Regions from separate parts of the Homo sapiens genome. Here region 1 is linked to region 2. The links are contacts of gene promoters, found by promoter capture Hi-C in human tissues and cell types (Jung and others, 2019). All regions are on one chromosome and are shown on one strand. The core of a region is centred on a gene start or on the middle of the fragment in contact, and the rest is flanking DNA. Distances in the headings are between cores, read along the strand shown.

Region 1 (4,677 bases), core at 2,178-4,677, 260 kb after region 2:
TTTAGTAATTAATCAATAAAATAGCACTGGGATAAAATGAAGAGAATTTCTTGTTTCAGCTTCTTATCAGTAAGCCTGTTCCTCATTTGTAGATAATGAGGATAAAGGTATCACAGCCAAATATGGGAAACTGCTCTTTATTTAGACCTTTGGGACAAAATTAACTTTGGTCACATATTACTTAAAAAAAAATCCAGTTTTACATATTTCTAAATAGACAGAACTAAATGATCAGAGAATTTCTTCTGTAAAAATTGGCCAAATTTTATCAAAAATCTAACATACGATACAATCCAAATTATAAAAAGACTACTTGGGATCATAATATTCCAAATGTATGACAGTTATAACTCCATCTTAACAAGTGTGAAAAGTACTTGCTCTCATGTTGCTTTGGTCCAAAAGAGTAGAGCTAACTCAGTAACAGGAAACTAAGTACCCAATCTTTTGCCAAAATTAATTTAGATTGTGACTGGCAGCAGAAATATCCATAATGAACAGCTCTACTATAACAAAGAATAATTAAAGAATACTTTTCGTGAACATATCACAGTATCAAATACATTTTTATAAGAGAAAAATATGAAGGAAATGATAAAATAGCTATCACAAACAAAAAGAAGCATTTCCCCCATAAGGTGAATTAGAGGGTTGATGATGCTAATATGAAAGGAAGTTGAGTACTGTATTTATTTCTTATTTTATACAACTCTTACTCTTTACAAAAATGGTTATAGTCATGCCCATAAAAGTGTAACCCATGGCATTTGAAAGCAAACACTCTTTGTAATTATTTAAAAGGGCCTTTTTAAAAATTATAATACAAAGGTCTGTGCTCTATAAGCAGTCCTCCACTGTGCATTGTAACAATAAGGCTTACTTTTAATACAAAGACTAAGCGTTTGGGAGTTATGAACCACTGGATTTAACAAACATCATTTTATAATTGCTTTTTGCATCTTTTTTGTTTTTGGGATCCTCCACTTCATCAGGGTGCTCAGCAGCTTGGAGTTCTTCAGCAGATTCTTCTTTCTCTGACTCTGAATCGCTTTCAGAATCATCTGGACTTTCAGGATCAGGTGAATCATCATCGTCATCATCATCATCTCCAGCCACATCACCTTCTCCATCATGGTCTTCTACCTAAAACATCAATCAACAGGCTCTTTTAAAAATAAACATTAGCCCATACAAAATCTGAGAAAGACCGTAAGTTCTGTCGGTCTTAGAAACACTCTACTTTGTAGCCATTAGAACAACAGCTTTAAGACTTGAGTAGAATTTTAAGAAAGAGCTCTGTCTGGCTGGGCCCAGTGGCTCATACCTGTGGCTGGGATTCCAGCTACTCAAGAGGCTGAGAGGCAGGGGGATTGCTTGAGGCCCAAAGTTTGAGACCAGCCTGGGCAACATAGTGAGACCCTGTCTCTTAAAAAAAAAAAAAAAAAAAAAAAAAAAAAAAAAAAAAAGGGAGAGAGAGAGAGAGAAACTAAAAAAAAAAAAAGAAAAAAGAAAAAAATTAGCCAGGCATGGTGGTGCATGCCTGTAGTTCTAGCTACTCGGGAGGCTGAGGTGGGAGGATTGCTTGAGCCTAGGAGTTCAAGGCTGTAGCGAGCTATGATCATGCCACTACATTCCAGCCTGTGTGACAGAGCAAGACTCCATTTCTTAAAAGACAAAAGAAAACAAGAGGGGAGGTGCTCTGAAGATCACACACCTATCTCCCCTCCCCTAGTTTGAAAACCATGGTATTATATTTTCCTGAAAGAAACAATTTTTTAAATTAATAAGGCATGTTAACCACTGACCTTTATGTAGAAATCAGTTATCAATGTTTTGCACATTGTATTACTTTGGAGTAAACAGTAGTCACACATAAATTCATAATATAAAAAGAGATCACTTAGGAAACAACTGAAAAAAAAATAAAAAAGCTCTCCTAAACCATTATTTTAAACCTAAATGAAATATTTTACTTAACTTGTGAGCATGTTGTTGTTCACGCCTATTAAAAATGTGCCCTGGCCGGACATGGTGGCTCACACCTGTAGTTCCAGCACTTTGGAAGGCGGAAAGATCGCTTGAACCCAGGAGTTTTGAGACCAGCCTGGGCAACATAGCAAAACTCCGTCTCTACAAAAAATACAAAAATTAGCTAGGCATGGTGGTGCAGGCCTATATCCCAGGTCCTCAGGAGGCTAAGGTGGCAGTGAGACTGTGCCACTATACTCCAGCCTGGGTGACAGAGTGAGAACCTGTCTCAAAAAAGGGGGAAAGAAAGGTACTCTAATGATTAAGCAGAATTTTCACTTTCAGAAAACACACTTTAAAATCCTTAGAAACAGGCCAGGTGAGGCTGGACATGGTGGTTCAAGCCTGTAATCCTAGCACTTTGGGAGGCTGAGGTGGGCGGATTGCCTGAGCTCAGTAGTTCAAGGCCAGCCTGGGCAACATGGTGAAACCCTATCTCTCCTGAAATACAAAAAATTAGCCTGGTGTGGCGGCATGCACCTGTAATCCCAGCTACTCGGGAGGCTGAGGCAGAATTGCTTGAACCCGGGAGGTGGAAGTTGCAGTGAGCTGAGATGGAGCCACTGCACCCCAGCCTGGGGCAACAGAGAGAGACTGTCTCCAAAAGAAAAATAAAAGGCCGGGTATGGTGGCTCACACCTGTAATACCAGCACTTTGGGAGCCCAAGGTGGGTGGGATCACCTGAGGTCAGGAGTTTGAGGCCAGCCTGGTTACATGGTGAAACCCCATCTCTACAAAAATTGGCTGGGCGTGATGGCAGGCGCCTGTAATCCCAGCTACTCAGGAGGCTGAGGCAGAAGAATCACTTGAACCCGCGAGGTGGAAGACATCACACCACTGCACTCCAGCCTGGTGACAGTGAGACTGCATCTCAAAAAAAAAGGAAAAAACAACCCCACACAAAATCCTTAGAAACATCTCTCCTGATTATCTACAAGACCAGTAGGGCATATACAAAATTATTTTTAAGATAACTACATACAGAAAGCTTTCTACATGGGATTCTTGATTGCTAGGGTAATCTAACAGCAATAAATGGTACCAAATTGAAAACTAATTATCTTCCCAATGAAAATAAGTTAATTACTACCTCACTGAAGCCAAGTCCACAATGTCGCCGATATCTTCCTGATAATTTACTGTCCATACTTTGCTGATATTGAGACTCCAGTTCTTCATTAATTTTCTTGTCTTCTTCCCCTGCATGTCCAGGATACTTTAGTTATGTTTCAGTCAAATTAATAATTTACACAAAAACCCATAATACAGATGCTATTATACTCAGGGCTGATTTATCTAATTGTGACTAATTTTACTATGACTTTTGAGAATTTATGCCATAGGTGGTTACCTAATAGAAAATAAAATGCCTGATGTTGAGATAGCATAAATATTTATTACTAAGCACTTTGGGTATTAAATGTTTTAGCTTACTTATAATAAGTAGATGTTATCCTGAAAGATTTTTTTCTAGTCACCTAATAAAAACTCTCTAACAAACAGAATTATCTATCTTTGAACAAAAACAGTGAAAAAAGCTAGGCACTTCTGTTCAGCAAATGGCTAAATAAAATGGTCATGTACTGACTCTTCTTTATGCCTTTCTTTGCTTATCAAGTTTATCAGAGCAACTTAAAAGTTTAAAGCAGCAGTTTCCAACCTTTTTGGCACCAGGCACCGGTTTTGTGGAAAACAATTTTTCCATGGAGGGGGGTGGTGGTGGTTTTGAGATGATTCAAGTGTATTACATTTATTGTGTACTTTATTATTATCACATCGTAATATATAATGAAATAATTGTACAACTCACCATAATGTAGAAGCAGTGGGAGCCCTGAGCTTGTTTTCCCTGCAACTAGACGGTCCCATCTAGGGGTGATGGGAGACAGTGACACCCTAAGTGTGTTGCTTATGTCCAGTCTACTCTGTAATCTTGTTTGGCTGCTGTCACTACAGAAAACCCTGTTTCACAAAGACAGGAGGTTGGAAATGGAAGCAGGCTTTCCAGTGCTTTCGTGGCAATCTCAGGATGTTCCACTTTGTCTTTAATCCAGAATGTATGGAGATGTGAAGTTGTCTCAAACATACTTTTAAGGGCAACATCATTTGTGATCTTAAGCAGCTGATCCTCTTCTAGCATGAACAAAGTCGATTCACCTGGCTTATTCACAAATGGGTTGTGAATCCATTCCTTCCCAGTTCGGGGCTCTTTCGTGGCTGGAAAATAATACTCAAACTCTTTGAAGGCTGAGATAGGTGATCATGTGCCAGCTGGGAGAAAAAAGGTCCTGGCTCAGTCTCTTTTAAAATCTCTGCTAATGTTTGAAACATGTCAAAAAATCCCAATGTTCACTTGTGGCCCCCATAATACTAGTCTGGCTTTGAATGCAGCCACTCTATCTGCCAACTTGAACACAGTTTTGTTCTCCCCTGAGGTGACAGATTGAATATGTCACACAAGTAAGCAAGTTTTTTTTTTTTTTTCGAGGGAGTCTCGCTCTCTTGCCCAGGCTGGAGTGCAGTGGCATGATCTCGGCTCATTGCAACCTCTGCCTTCCAGGCTCAAGTGATTCTCGTGCCTCAGCCTCCCGAGTAGCCGGGATTATAGGCATGTGCCACCATGCCTAGCTAATTTTTGTATTTTTTAG
Region 2 (4,930 bases), core at 1,381-3,880:
TGTAATTACTGACAATGCTGCAGTGAATACTCTAGTACACTGGAATTTGTGCCCCATGTAAGCACTAATGTAGGATAAATTCCTGACATGAAATTGCTAGGTCAAGACATTGAGGTTGGAATAGCTGTGCCAAATTGCCTTCGAAGAGGCTCAAACATTTTAAAGTCCCATCAACAATGAACAAGAATGTCTTTCTCTACAATATCTTTTCTTTCTTTCTTTTATGAGACAGAGTTTCACTCTGTCACCCAGGCTGGAGTGCAGTGGCGTGATCTCTGCTCACTGAAACCTCCACCTCTAGGGTTCAAGTGATTCTCCTGCCTCAGCCTCCCAAGTAGCTGGGATTACAGGCATGCACCACCATGCCCAGTTAATTTTTGTGTTTTTAGTAGAGACAAGGTTTCACCATGTTGGCCAGGCTGGTCTCGAATTGCTGATCTCAAGCGATCCACCCGCCTCAGCCTCCCAAAGTGCTGGGATTACAGGCGTGAGCCACCACGCCTGGCCAATATCTTTTCTAATTTATCTTTTCCAATCTGACATCTAAAAAAATAGTATTTCACCGTAAGTTGCAGTTCTTCTATTATGAAGTGGCTCAGTATCTTTTCATTTGCTTAAAAGTTATCTGTATTACTTTTCTATTAACTGTGGGTTCATACCCTTTGCCCATTTAATGTATTATTTAAAATCAATGTTTAGCTAGCAAAACACCGCTTTCCTATTTTCATTTGCTCAACAACCTCCTCAGAGGCAGGAGGTTCCTTCAGACAGGTGTCCCCCGTCCTCTGCAACCAGTTACCTCTTCTAACTCATAAATGCCTCCTTCCCCAACACCACTGTCTGTTCCCAAGGAAGGGCCCCTTTATGGTCTCATCAACATCTCACAGCCCTCCCAAAATTATGTGCATGCTCTCCCATCCCTCCCCTCTGGAGTGCTCTTTTCCCAGTCAAACCTAACCAGTCCTTCAGGGTCCAGCCTAATTCCACCTGTTTGGGCACCTTTCTGAATAACTAGTGCTCACATTGCATACAGTCTCACTTTCAGGCGCGCCTCCTCCCATCAATCAGAGCCTATGTCCCGAGAAGGCTGGGCCTGACAACAGCTGGAGCCCAGCTGCTGCTCTGTCTTTGCTCAGTGTGTGTGTGTGTGTGTGTGTGTGTGTGTGGCCGGGAGTCTGAGTGTGGAGTATGTTTCATTCACTCATCCTGCAGTTTTTTTTTTTAGACTGAGTCTCGCTGTTGCACAGGTTGCAGGGCAGCGGCGCGATCTCGGCTCACTGCAACCTCTGCCTCCCTGGTTCAAGCGATTTTCCCGCCTCAGCCTCCTGAGTAGCTGGGATTACAGGCGCCCGCCACCACGCCCGGCTAGCTTTTGTATTTTTTTGGTAGAGACGGGGTTTCACCATGTTGGCCAGGCTGGAATAGAACTCCTGACCTCAAGTGATTCACCCGCCTCGGCCTCCAAGAGTGCTGGGATTACAGGCCTGAGCCACCGTGCCCCACCCCATCCTACAGTTATTGAATGCGTAATGCATACATGAGTCAGGTGCTGTTCCAGGCATTGGAGACCAGGCAGTGTATGAGGTAGATCAAAGCCCCTTCTCTCATCCAGCTGACATGTTGGAACTAATATACAACAAACAAGACAAACACAAATATCAATTAAATGTAAACAAGTAATGAAATAGCGAGGGAAGGAGGGGAAGGATTTTCTTTGCAGAGGGCTCAGGGAGGGCTCCCCGAGGAGATAAGATAGGAGTAAAGACCCGAATATGAGAGGGTGCCGCCACTGCAAAGAGCTTTGCAGGGCCCCCTAGAGGCCCCGCCTGGCCACCGCTCTTCCAGAGATGGACGTGCTGCCGAGCCCTCAAAACCCCTTTTTTCTGTTACTTGACAGAAACTGAAGGCAAGAGCTTGCGATCCCTGCAACCTCAGTGGTGTGTGGCGGTAACCCTGCTCCCTCCTGTTTCACATCCCAGCTGAAAACTTGGGAAAATGAAATCGCGCTCGGCCTGCCGTTGATAGAGCACCTACTACATGCCATGGTCCGGTTAAGCACTTTATGCGATTGTTACTTCATTTAATCTACACAACAATCCCGTGTGGACTCGATTAACCTTACAGGGGAAGAGAAGGAGGCTGGGAATATGGCAGGAACCTGAGTGTTAACTTGGTTCACACACAAGCGGAGTTCCCGGGTCGGGAAGTTCTGTGGTGCGGGTCGGCTGGGGTTTACTGAGCGTTCGGGCGCTCGCCGTTTTCGGAGTTGGTCGGGTCCAACCGCGCGCCCCGAAGCTGCCCAGGCGCGCCCGCCAGCGGCCCCCGCCAGCGGCCCCCCGCGCCGCCCGGGTCTCCCGGCCTCGGGGGCAAAGGGGAGCGCCGGTGCCAGCAGGCTGGGGGCGGGGAAGGCTCGGGGACAAAGGCCGCGGGCACTGCGCTGGGTTGGCCGGAGCGGCTGCGAACTCCGGGCGCCAGGACCCGGCCGGGCGGTCGCTCCCTCAGGAGCCCGCGCCTGGATGGAGCGCCTCGCGGCGCCGCCGGGCCACGCGCAGGCCGAGCCCCCGCCACCGCCCCCGCCTCCGCCCCTGCCCGCGCCCCCGCCCCCTCCCCCCCACCCCGCGGCGGCTCCGCGCTCGGCGAACATGGCGGCGGCGACGGTCGGGCGGGACACTTTACCTGAGCATTGGTCCTACGGGGTGTGCCGGGATGGCCGCGTCTTCTTCATCAAGTGCGGCGCGAGGACCCGGGGACGCGGGGACGCGGGTGGGGGCGCGGGGGCGGGGGCCGGGCGGGCACCCGGCGGGCTGTGGCGGCGCTAACAGGTGCACCTCTCTGCCCGCAGTGACCAGCTCCGCTGCACGACCTGGCTGCATCCGCGCACCGGGGAGCCCGTCAACTCGGGCCACATGATCCGCTCAGGTGGGCGCCGGGCCGGCGGGTGGGGGGCGCGCGCAGCGGCGGCCCAAGTTTGACCCGACTTTTCTGGCGTTTCCGCAGACCTGCCCCGCGGCTGGGAGGAGGGCTTCACGGAGGAGGGCGCCAGCTACTTCATCGAGTGAGTGAGTGGGGCCGCCGCGCTCGCACCTGTGCCGCGGGGGGGGGGTCCCTCCCCGTTCCCGCCGGGCGCCCCGCCCTTCCTCTGCTCCCGCCGGCCCGGGCTCGTTGGCGCGCGCTGCGCCGCGGCCACACTCAACGTTTTGTGTGCCCAAGTTGTTTGGCGGCCTCCGAGAGGAAGGCGGTGGGGGCCGCACCTACGCTGGGGACCTGGGCCGGGGGGGAAGAGGCCGCAGACTCTGCGCCCTGGACCTTGCAATCCGGCTGGATTCGGGTGCTGGTGTGCGGGCTGGGCACGCCTCCCCTCTAGGGTCTGGGGCTGCGCCCCGCCGGGAGAGGCGAGTGCCGGGACCTGGATGGGCTCGGGTGGGAGGAGTAGAACGAGAAGTTCTGTCCTGGTGTGGGCCTGCGGGGTTGGAGTGGGGAGAGGGAGAGACTAGGGGAATCTCGCTTAGGAGGACGCCCCCTCTCCCGCCGCAGGCTCTGGGATGGTCTTGGAGAGTCGGAACCTCGCCCCCGGCCTCCATCCACTGCGCGGGCCTGCGGGGAGGGAGGGGGTGGGGAAGGGAACTGGTCAACCAATGACTTTCCTCGAGCGCTCCGCGTCTCTTCGGCCGGAGCTGAACCGGGGGATTGCTGGTGCTTCCGTTAGTCCACGGGCGACTTTTCCGCAAAAGCCCCGGAGTGTTGGCGCACCAGCCAGGTTACCCTGGGTCTGTAGGATCAGTCCATGTCAGATTGGGGCGCAGTAAGTGAAGGCGCGGGTCAGGCTCCTATGCCAGTACAGGCTTTGCTTTCCCACTCCGGCGGGAGTCTGTGTTGCAGCGTGTTTCCCTCTGCCTGCTGAGCTCCGGGAGGCCAGACACTGCCTTTGACCCCTTGCCCCAGTGCCGGACAGCAAGTAGGCACTCGGTAAATGTTTGTTCACTGAATGAATCAGCTCGCCAAAGGTCTGGACGGTGGTCTGACTAGTACTGACTGGGTGTACCTCGGCGACTGTGAGTCAGAACTACTACTGTTAGGAATAAAGCAGCCTATTTCAAGAAAACCCCGGAACCTCCTTTTCTGGTTTGGGTTCTTGCATAATAGTTGAAAATACTGATGGGTGAGATTTACAGACCTAAGGACTAGGGCCTTGCTGCGGTTCTATTGCCCTGCCTCATATGTGTGTATGTGAAGTTGGGGAGTTGGCTGGGGCCATCAGAGTCTTGCTGTCAGTGGGCCTCTCTGGCTCATAACTGCATCAGTTGATGTTATTACAATTTTCCTGTGTGCCACACGTTCACACGTTGTTCTAGGCATTGGGAACAAAAAACAGAAAAGTTCTAGGTGCTCATGGAGCTTGCAATCTAATAGGAGAGGGAAGGGAGTAGAAAATAAGTAAAAAACACAAATAATAATATCAGATCGTGGTTACTACTGTGCAGAAAGTTAAAATAAGGTGATGTGACATGGAGTGACTGGGTGGCTTGGTTGTACTGGGAGATCGGGATGGTGTTTCTGAATAGGCAACATTTAAAGTAAAATTTGAATGACAAGAAGGAGACATCATGTGATGATGAGTTGGCAAAGCATTTCGGGAAGAGCGAACAGCCAGGGCAAGGGCTTAAGGCAGAAAAGAGCTTGGAGTTTAAGGAGCAGGAAGGCTGGAATGTGGTGCACAAGGGAGAAAGTGGCATGAGGAGAGGTCACAGGTAGGAGAAAGGTAAATGCCGCAAAGCTTTGTGAGCCGGGGTGAGGAATTTTCATACTTTATTCTAAGCCCAGTGAAACGTCATTGGAGGGTTTTAAGCAGGGAAATGGCATGATTTGGTGTGTGTTTTTAGAACGATCACTGTGAGGAGATTGGATTGTAGGTGGCCACTGCAGGGGGAGG

The links. Contacts are between HindIII fragments. The study calls those that stand out against the background at their distance.
Region 1: a fragment that was not itself captured here is called in contact with the fragment with the promoter of PLEKHA7 in region 2 in 1 of the 25 tissues and cell types used here (liver).

Annotation. Positions count from the first base shown.
Region 1 is chr11:16,751,337-16,756,013 of GRCh38, reverse strand. C11orf58 (chromosome 11 open reading frame 58) reads right to left here. Exons shown (of 5, transcript NM_014267.6): 4 at 3,120-3,229; 5 at 1-1,143. The coding sequence ends at 910. Among named protein-coding and RNA genes, the nearest start is that of C11orf58, 15 kb to the right of the region's middle. The HindIII fragment of the contact is 6,533 bases long and covers 161-4,677 here.
Region 2 is chr11:17,012,114-17,017,043 of GRCh38, reverse strand. PLEKHA7 (pleckstrin homology domain containing A7) reads left to right here and starts at 2,630. Exons shown (of 27, transcript NM_001329630.2): 1 at 2,630-2,728; 2 at 2,843-2,919; 3 at 2,998-3,055. The coding sequence starts at 2,643. RefSeq lists a silencer at 3,928-4,222 and an enhancer at 4,107-4,868. The HindIII fragment of the contact is 16,980 bases long and covers 1-4,930 here.